Regions from separate parts of the Homo sapiens genome. Here region 1 is linked to region 2. The links are contacts of gene promoters, found by promoter capture Hi-C in human tissues and cell types (Jung and others, 2019). All regions are on one chromosome and are shown on one strand. The core of a region is centred on a gene start or on the middle of the fragment in contact, and the rest is flanking DNA. Distances in the headings are between cores, read along the strand shown.

Region 1 (5,477 bases), core at 1,721-4,220, 140 kb before region 2:
TGTCTTCCACAATGGTTGAACTAGTTTACAGTCCCACCAACAGTGTAAAAGTGTTCCTATTTCTCCACATCCTCTCTAGCACCTGTTGTTTCCTGACTTTTTAATGATTGCCATTCTAACTGGTGTGAGATGGTATTTCATTGTGGTTTTGATTTGCATTTCTCTGATGGCCAGTGATGGTGAGCATTTTTTCATGTGTCTGTTGGCTGCATAAATGTCTTCTTTTGAGAAATGTCTGTTCATATCCTTTGCCCACTTTTTGACGGGGTTGTTTGATTTTTTCTTGTAAATTTGTTTAAGTTCTTTGTAGATTCTGGATATTAGCCCTTTGTCAGATGGGTAGATTGTAAAAATTTTCTCCCATTCTGTAGGTTGCCTGTTCACTCTGATGGTAGTTTCTTTTGCTGTGCAGAAGCTCCTTAGTTTAATTAGATCCCATTTGTCAATTTTGGCATTTGTTGCCATTGCTTTTGGTGTTTTAATCATGAAGTCCTTGCCCATGCCTATGTCCTGAATGTTACTGCCTAGGTTTTCTTCTAGGGTTTTTATGGTTTTAGGTCTAACATTTAAGTCTTTAATCCATCTGGAATTTAATTTTTGTATAAGGTGTAAGGAAGGGATCCAGTTTCAGCTTTCTACATACGGCTAGCCAGTTTTCCCAGCACCATTTATTAAATAGGGAATCCTTTCCCCATTTCTTGTTTTTATCAGGTTTGTCAAAGATCAGATGGTTGTAGATGTGTGGTATTATTTCTGAGGGCTCTATTCTGTTCCATTGGTCTATATCTCTGTTTGGTACCAGTACCATGCTGTTTTGGTTACTGTAGCCTTGTAGTATAGTTTGAAGTCAGGTAGCCTAATGCCTTGAGCTTTGTTCTTTTGGCTTAGGATTGTCTTGGCAATGTGGGCTCTTCTTTGGTTCCATATGAACTTTAAAGTAGTTTTTTCCAATTCTGTGAAGAAAGTCATCGGTAGCTTGATGGGGATGGCATGGAATCTACAAATTACCTTGGGCAGTATGGCCATTTTCATGATATTGATTCTTCCTATCCACGAGCATGGAATGTTCTTCCATTTGTTTGTGTCCTCTTTGATTTCGTTGAGCAGTGGTTTGTAGTTCTCTTTGAAGAGGTCCTTCACATCCCTTGTAAGTTGGATTCCTAGGTATTTTATTCTCTTTGAAGCAATTGTGAATGGGAGTTCACTCATGATTTGGCTCTCTGTTTGTCTGTTGTTGGTGTATAGGAATGCTTGTGATTTTTGCACATTGATTTTGTATCCTGAGACTTTGCTGAAGTTGCTTATCAGCTTAAGGAGATTTTGGGCTGAGATGATAGGGTTTTCTAAATATACAATCATGTCATCTGCAAACAGGGACAATTTGACTTCCTCTTTTCCTACTTGAATACCCTTTAGTTCTTTGTCCTTCCTGATTGCCCTGGCCAGAACTTCCAACACTATGTTGAATAGGAGTGGTGAGAGAGGGCATCCCTGTCTTGTGCCAGTTTTCAAAGGGAATGCTTCCAGTTTTTGCCCATTCAGTATATGATATTGACTGTAGGTTTGTCATAAATAGCTCTTATTATTTTGAGATACATCCCATCAATACCCAGTTTATTGAGAGTTTTTAGCATAAAGGGCTGTGGAATTTTGTCGAAGGCCTTTTCTGCATCTATTCAGATAATCTTGTGGTTTTTGTCTTTGGTTCTGTTTATATGATGGATTACGTTTATTGCTTTGCATATGTTGAATCAGCCTTGCATCCCAGGGATGAAGCCAACTTGATCGTGGTGGATAAGCTTTTTGATGTGCTGCTGGATTTGGTTTGCCAGTATTTTATTGAGGATTTTTGCATCGATGTTCATCAGGTATATTGGTCTAAAATTCTTTTTGTTGTGTCTCTGCCAGGCTTTGGTATCAGGATGTTGCTGGCCTCATAAAATGAGTTAGGGAGGATTCCCTCTTTTTCTATTGATTGGAATAGTTTAAGAAGGAATGGTACTAGCTCCTCTTTGTACCTCTGGTAGAATTCAGCTGTGAATCCATCTGGTCCTTGACTTTTTTTGGTTGGTAGTCTATTAATTATTGCCTCAATTTCAGAGCCTGTTATTGGTCTATTCAGGGATTCGACTTCTTCCTGGTTTAGTCTTGGGAGGGTGTATGTGTCCAGGAATTTATCCATTTCTTCTAGATTTTCTAGTTTATTTCCATAGAGGTATTTATAGTACTCTCTGATGGTAGTTTGTATTTCTGTGGGATCGGTGGTGATATCCCCTTTATCATTTTTTATTGCATCTATTTGATTCTTCTCTCTTTTCTTCTTTATTAGTCTTGCTGGCGGTCTATCAATTTTGTTGATCTTTTCAAAAAAACAGCTCCTGGATTCACTGATTTTTTGAAGGGTTTTTTCTGTCTCTGTCTCCTTCAGTTCTGCTCTGATCTTAGTTATTTCTTGCCTTCTGCTAGCTTTTGAATGTGTTTGCTCTTGCCTCTCTAGTTCTTTTAATTGTGATGTTAGGGTGTCAATTTTACATCTTTCCTGCTTTCTCCTGTGGGCATTTAGTGCTATAAATTTCCCTCTACAAACTGCTTTAAATGTGTCCCAGAGATTCTGGTATGTTGTGTCTTTGTTCTCATTGGTTTCAAAGAACATCTTTATTTCTGCCTTCATTTGTTATGTACCCAGTAGTCATTCAGGAGCAGGTTGTTCAGTTTCCATGTATTTGAGTGGTTTAGAGTGAGTTTCTTAATCCTGAGTTCTAGTTTGATTGCTCTGTGGTCCGAGAGACAGTTTGTTATAATTTCTATTCTTCTACATTTGCTGAGGAGTGCTTTACTTCCAACTATGTGGTCAATTTTGGAATAAGTGTGATGTGGTGCTGAGAAGAATGTATATTCTGTTGATTTGGGGTGGAGAGTTCTGTAGATGTCTATTAGGTCCTCTTGGTGCAGAGCTGAGTTCAATTCCTGTATATCCTTGTTAACTTTCTGTCTCATTGATCTGTCTAATGTTGACAGTGGGATGTTAAAGTCTCCCATTATTATTGTGTGGGAGTCTAAGTCTCTTTGTAGGTCTCTAAGGACTTGCTTTATGCATCTCAGTGCTCCTGTATTGGGTGCATAAATATTTAGGATAGTTAGCTCTTCTTGTTGAATTGATCCCTTTACCTTTATGTAATGGCCTTGTCTCTTTTGATCTTTGTTGGTTTAAAGTCTGTTTTATCAGAGACTAGGATTGCAACCCCTGCTTTTTTTGTTTGTTTTCCATTTGCTTGGTAGATCTTCCTCCATCCCTTTATTTTGAGCCTATGTATGTCTCTGCACGTGAGATGGGTCTCCTGAATACAGCACACTGATGGGTCTTGATTCTTTATCCAATTTGCCAGTCTGTGTCTTTTAATTGGAGCATTTAGCCCATTTACATTGAAGGTTAATATTGTTATGTGTGAATTTGATCCAGTCATTATGATGTTAACTGGTTATTTTGCTCGTTAGTTGATACAGTTTCTTCCTAGCCTCAATGGTCTTTACAATTTGGCATGTTTTTGCAGTGGCTGGTACCGGTTGTTCCTTTCCATGTTTAGTGCTTCCTTCAGGAGATCTTTTACAGCAGGCCTGGTGGTGACAAAATCTCTCAGCATTTGAATCTGTAAAGGATTTTATTTCTCCTTCACTTATGAAGCTTAGTATGGCTGGATATGAAATTCTGGGTTGAAAATTCTTTCCTTTAAGAATGTTGAATATTGGCCCCCACTCTTTTCTGGCTTGTAGAGTTTCTGCCAAGAGATCCGCTGTTAGTCTGACGGGCTTCCCTTTGTGGGTAACCCGACCTTTCTCTCTGGCTGCCCTTAACATTTTTTCCTTCATTTCAACTTTGGTGAATCTGACAATTATGTGTCTTGGAGTTGCTCCTCTCGAGGAGTATCTTTGTGGCGTTCTCTGTATTTCCTGAATTTGAATGTTGGTCTGCCTTGCTAGGTTGGGGAAGTTCTCCTGAATAATATCCTGAAGAGTGTTTCCCAACTTGGTTCCATCCCTGTCACTTTCAGGTACACCAATCAGACATAGATTTGGTCTTTTCACATAGTCCCATATTTCTTGGAGGCTTTTTCATTTCTTTTTACTCTTTTTTCTCTAAACTTCTCTTCTCACTTCATTTCATCCATTTGATCTTCAATTACTGATACCTTTTCTTCCACTTGATTGAATCAGCTACTGAAGCTTGTGCATGCATCACATAGTTCTCGTGCCATGGTTTTCAGCTCCATCGGGTCATTTAAGGTCTTCTCTACACTGTTTATTCTAGTTAGCCATTTTGTCTAATCTTTTTTCAAGGTTTTTAGCTTCTTTGTGATGGGTTCGAACATCCTCCTTTAGCTTGGAGAAGTTTGTTATTACCGATCATCTGAAGCCTTCTTCTCTCAGCTCGTCAAAGTCAAAGTCCAGCTTTGTTCCATTGCTGGCGAGGAGCTGCGTTCCTTTGGAGGAGAAGAGGCGCTCTGATGTTTAGAATTTTCAGCTTTTCTGCTCTGGTTTCTCCCCATCTTTGTGGTTTTATCTACTTTTGGTCTTTGATGATGGTGATGTACAGATGGGTTTTGGTGTGGTTGTCCTTTCTGTTTGTTAGTTTTCCTTCTAACAGTCAGGACCCTCAGCTGAGGTCTGTTGGATTTTGCTTGAGGTCCACTCCAGACCCTGTTTGCCTGGGTATCACCAGCAGGGGCTGCAGAACAGCAAATATTGCAGAACGGCAAATGTTGTTGCCTGATCCTTCCTCTGGAAGCTTCGTCACAGAGGGGCACACGGCCGTATGAGGTGTCAGTTGGCCCCTACTGGGAAGTGCCTCCCAGTTAGGCTACTTGGAGATCAGGGACCCACTTGAGGAGGCAGACTGTCCATTCTTAGATCTCAAACTCCATGCTGGGAGGACTGCTACTCTCTTCAAAGCTGTCAGACAGGGACATTTAAGTCTGCAGAAGTTTCTGCTGCCTTTTGTTCAGCTATCCAGAATGCATTCTTATGTGTGCTTGTGTCCTTTACTGAATTCGAAGGTTCTGGGCAGACCTGAAGGGTTTCCCACATTCTTTACATTCATGGTTTCTCTTGATTGTGTGTCCTACCATGCATTCAAAGGTGTGAGGCAGATCTGAAGGCTTTCCCTCATTGCTTACACTCATAGGGTTTATCTTCAGGGTGAGTCCTACCATGCATTCGAAGGACTGAGGCAGCTCTGAAGGCTTTCCCACATTGCTTGCATTTATAGGGTTTCTCTCCAGTGTGAGTCCTTTCATGGTATCGAAAGGAACTGGAACTACTGAAGGCTTCACCACATTGCTTGCATTCATAGAGTTTCTCTCCAGTGTGAGTTTTTTCATGTCTTTGCAATGATTTGGGACAATAAAAGCCTTTCCCACATAGCTTACATTTATAAGGTCTTTCTCCAGAGTGTATTCTTACGTGTGTTTGTGTCCTTTCAT
Region 2 (5,069 bases), core at 1,709-4,208:
TCACACCTGTAATCCCAGCACTTTGGGAGGCCGAGGTGGGCAGATCATGAGGTCAGGAGATCGAGACCATCTTGGCTAACATGGTGAAACACCGTCTCTACTAAAAATACAAAAAATTAGCTGGGGTGGTGGCATGTGCCTGTAGTCCCAGCTACTTGGGAAGCTGAGGCAGGAGAATCACTTGAACCCAGGAGGCGGAGGTTGCAGTGAGCTGAGATCATGCCACTGTTCTCCAGCCTGGGCAACAGAGCAAGACTCCATCTCAAAAATAAAAAATAAAAAAAAAAAGAGTCCTTTAGTAGACAACTGACCTGCTGCTTGAAACTGAATTCTCAGCCTTTATAGCTTTGAGAAATGAATATCTGTTGTGTAAGGCATGCAGTCTATGGTAAATTTGTTATAGCAACCCAAAGGACTAAGTTAGGAAGGGTCTTTCTCTACCACACATCAAGGCTTTGAAGACTATAGTAATCAGGAGAGTATGATATTAGCAGACTGATGGATACATAAACCAATGAAAAATGGCAAATTCTGGAACAAGAGCATCTACTTAAGGTACAAGAACCTATGACACAGCAGGTATTGCCAGGCAGTGATACAAATGAGGGACACTTCAACAGAAATGATGGAGACAAATGGTTACCTACAGGAGAATAATCCATCTTCTGCCCAGCATCTCCATATACAATGATCAACTAACTATAGACTTTCCAGTTTTCATTAATTTTTACTCAGTTTGTTACCTCAGCTTCCATTTTGAGTGTGGTTTCGTTTTTCCATACCAAAAAAGGGGTTTTATGACCCTTGACACAGTTTCTAGTTCTCTATCTTCTCCCAGTTCTTCAATTTGGTTGATCCATATGCATCCCTTATACCATCATCTCCTTTCACCACCTCCCTATGGGTGCAGAGTGTGTCAAGTCAGGTCCTCCTATCACCTGGAACATCCCCCATCACCATGCTGCTCACCGAAGTGCTCAATAACCATGATCCCAGGAGACACTACATTGTTAGCTTTTCAGGTTCTTGCACCACCTCAGTGGAGTTGGTTTTCCTGTCCTTAGGGATAGTTTTCTCCCTTCATTAGTCTGAGAACATCAGAAGGGAAGAATCATTTCAGTCCTGTCCCCTTAATACCACCATCCAATTGGCTGACCAGCCATATATCCCCAAGGAAGGGATGGGGGAAGAAAAGCTGAGTGTTCTAAGGAAGTAGCTTATTGAGGAAGGGTATACCAGGAGACTCCTCCCACTACAGGGCATCATGCTGCTTCCCTACAAGGTCCCACCATCTCCACCTCAGGGTGTCCTCTGGGAGGAGTGACAAAGGGACTGATATTCACTTGACACTACAAGAGACTTGGCAGCTGTGGGCATCTTGGGGTGGCCCCAGGCAGCTCTGAAACCCAGGACCAGGAAACCATAGAGGATGGGCTGGGGACTCATCACTCTGTAACGTTTCCAAAGAGGAAACTTAATCCAAAGACATTCTCAAAAGGTGTCTCTGTCTAGGGATGATGAAGGGAGGACAGTAACAAAGATTTTATTTATTAATATTCATTTTTTTTACAGCGAAATGTCTGGTGGTTTTTCTCTGCTTCCTCTCATGTGAAATGTTCACAAACACAAAACCTTTTACAAAGAGCCATATATTGCTATGTATAAACAAAATGACAATTAAAATACTAGCCTCTGTTTGAAAAATAAACTGGGGGACAAGGAGTTCATAAAGTTGCTGTGAATTGAGGAGAGAAAGCCTGAGGAAGGCTCTGGAAGCCAAGGGATTTTCTGTCGGCCCTAGGAGGAGTTAGGATGAGAGAACACAGTGGTGGACTTGAGACCCTGCTGCCCACATCTTTGGAAGACTCGAAGGCGAACGGGTCACCCTTGGGAAGAAAGAAGGGACAGGGGACCACACAGACCACAACTCCTCCCACACACAAACCCCACACACGAGTCTGCCTGGTGACCTGTCATCACCGTGCAGCCTCCTCACCGGGTTCACAGAACTGCGAGCCAGGCTGGAGGCGAGATTGCAGTTAGATATTAACCAGGTGCCCTCAGCCCCGCTGCCTCGCGGGGCCGCCTCCCCAAGAGTCAGGCCACAGCAGATGCTGACCGCCGGCTTCGCCATTGTGCTTGGGGATGAGATCTCTGAGAGTTGCTCAAGAGTCGCCTGAGTTCTTTCTCAGATCCTGAATTCCAGCGGAAAGGCTGGCGCCAACCAGGCTGAAGACCCCACAAGGGAACCCACTCAGCAGAAGAATGCGGTTTCTTCACCTCCAGTCCCAAGAGTCACCCCTCACTTCCCCACCATCCAGCGACCCCACGCCCCAGCCGCCCCTGTCCACACCCCTAAACACCCCATCCCCAAACCTCTCAGGAAGGCGGATCTGGGGTGTCCTCCCCTCTCCCCCTATTAAACTGTTTCTGCTGCAGCCCTCGGCGTCTCGGTGCAGTGACTCGGGCCGCGAACCTGTGCCGGTTACAGCCGCACAATCTGGGGAGACGCAGGACTGCGGGCGCGGAGCTGCCCAGACAGGCCTCCAGGGCCAGGGCCGCAGTGGCCGCGCAGGGACGGGACAGGACGCCCGGGGTCCCGGCTGCCGCCCCAGCCCCATCGTGCGGCCGAGGGAACCGAGGGCCGAGCTGCGCCAGGGTGTCGCCGGCGGGGAAGACCTGGTGCCACCACAGCCGGTTCCGGCCGGTTCCAACCAGTCTCTCCTCTCACGCGTCGGGACACCAGACCTCACACACTCACCATTTCCCGGCTTCCGGCGTCCAGGTTCCTCCCTCTGCCTCCCGCTGTCAGTGCGGGTCCCAGCGAGACAGAAGCTGCCACAGACGTTCCAGGGCGTCTCTCAGTGACAGAACCCGGAGCCCAGTGCAGGGGCGTGGAGAAGACTCGGCGGGCTCTTTGAACCTTGCACCCTCCTCCGGTCAGTGCGCCTGATTGACAGTTCTCACGACCCCGCCCCGCGGCCCTGATTGGATAGTGCGCCAGGTCCCTCCCCCGGGCACTGAGTAACGGAAGAAGCGATCTCGGGCAGCGGAGTGGAACCTGATAAACAGATTCCAGACAGGCCTTGAGAGGACTAGCTTCCTCCCTGCGCTGTGACCTGACCCCCTCCCAGGGGACATTTGCATTTAGGCAGTATGTCCTGACCTTCCTCCTTTTTCCTCTTGGACAGGGACCCACAAGTCTGTGCAGGAAATTCCAGACTCACTGTCCAGTGGAGCTATCCCCTGATTTGAGAGCAGGAAGGGAGCCCAGGCCACACTGCAGCAGAAGGGAGGGGCTGATGTCCTCCAGGAATCAGGAGTTTTGGATGAGGCTGTTGGCTGCACAGGCCAAGCCTTTCTCCCACCTTATGTCTCAATCTACTAATTTTCAGTGCAGAATATAAAAACACCCCAACAAAGCCGGGCGTGGTGGCTCACACCTGTAATCCCAGCACTTTGGGAGGCTGAGGCAGGTGGATCACCTGAGGTCAGAAATTCGAGACCAGTCTGGCCAACATGGTGAAATCCCGTCTCTAAAATACAAAGATTAGCCGGATGTGGTGGCGCACGCCTGTAGTCCCAGCTACTCAGGAGGCTGAGACAGAGGAATCACTTGAACCTGGAAGGCAGAGGCTGCAGTGAGAGAGTGGGCGAGACAGAGGGAGACTCCGTCTCAAAAAAAAAAAAAAAGAAAAAAGAAAAAAGAAATAAATAAAATTGTTAAATGTGTGGAAAAACTGGAATTATATGGCGGCAATATTTTATAAAGCAAAAACTTGAACTAGCTCAGATAAGCAGCCTGCTGCATCCACACACAGTTCACAAGTCAACCACTTTCAGGAGGCCAAACATATTCCAAAGCTTGGAGGCCAGACGATAATTCCTGAAATGGAGCCCTAGGGTGGATCAGAACCTGGGGATGAGTCAGGGGCACTAATGGATTTAACTCTGGGAGTTCAATTTGCCCTCCTGTCTCCTAAACACAGCGTGGAAATGCTCCTTCCATCAAGCCTATAAATGTTATTGAATTAAATGCTTCAATCAAAGGCTGAGACATTAGACTTTGAATTTGAAAACATTCATCTTCATATTTTTATGAAGAATACCAGATATAAAAGCATTATGAGGCCAGGCACCGTGGCTCATGCCTGCAATCCCACCACTTTGGGAGGCTGAGGTGGGTGGATTGCTTGAGCTCAGGAGCTCAAGACCGGCCTGGGCAATGTGGTGAAACCCCCATCTCTATTTAAAAACAAACAAAAAAAAAGCGTTATTAACTGGGAGCTGGCACCCATGGTGATACGAAGAAAAAGAGGTTTAATTGACTCACAGTTCAGCATGGCTGGGGAGGCCTCACAATCATGGTGGAAGGCAAAGGAGGAGCAAAAGCAAATGTTACATGGCGGCAGGCAAGAGAGCGTGTGCAGGGGAACTGCCCTTTATAAAGCCATCGGATCTCATGAGACTTACTCACCCAAATCTCATTTTGAATTGCAGCTCCCATAATCCCCACATGTCATGGGAGTGATCCAGTGGGAGGTAATTGAATCATGGAGGCGGTTTTCCCATGCTGTTCTCGTGATAGTGAATAAGTCTCATGAAATCTGATGGCTTTATAAAGGGCAGTTTCCCTGTACATGCTCTCTTGCCTGCCGCCATGTAACATTTGCCTTTGCTCCTCCTTAGCCTTCCACCAACACCTGACCAAATGGATATGACATCTACAGAACTTTCCACCCAAAACCAACAGATTATACATTCTTCTCCTCACCACATGGCACATACTCTAAAATCAGTAACATAATCAGACATAAAATAACCCTCAGCAAATTAAAAAAACAAGCAAACAAAATCATACCAACTGCACTCTCAGACCACAGTGCAATAAAAATAGAAATCAAGACTAAGAAAATCTCCCCAAACCATACAATTATATCAAAATTAAATGACCTGGTTCAGAATGACTTCTGAGTAAATAATGAAATTAACACCAAAATCAAGAAATTCTTGGAAACTGAGAAGAAAGATACAACATACCAGAATCTCTGGGGCACAGCTAAAGAAGT

Evidence for each region. The method cuts DNA at HindIII sites, captures the fragments that hold promoters and counts their contacts. A contact is called where the count stands out against the background at its distance.
Region 1: a fragment that was not itself captured here is called in contact with the fragment with the promoter of ZNF441 in region 2 in 1 of the 25 tissues and cell types used here (aorta).

What each region holds. Positions count from the first base shown.
Region 1 is chr19:11,905,782-11,911,258 of GRCh38, reverse strand. ZNF69 (zinc finger protein 69) reads right to left here. Exons shown (of 4, transcript NM_001364730.1): 4 at 4,563-5,477. The coding sequence ends at 5,161. Among named protein-coding and RNA genes, the nearest start is that of ZNF700, 17 kb to the left of the region's middle. The HindIII fragment of the contact is 5,350 bases long and covers 296-5,477 here.
Region 2 is chr19:11,764,889-11,769,957 of GRCh38, reverse strand. ZNF441 (zinc finger protein 441) reads right to left here and starts at 2,958. Exons shown (of 4, transcript NM_152355.3): 1 at 2,762-2,958. The coding sequence starts at 2,764. RefSeq lists silencers at 1,928-2,037, 2,488-2,627 and an enhancer at 2,698-2,797. The HindIII fragment of the contact is 15,674 bases long and covers 1-5,069 here.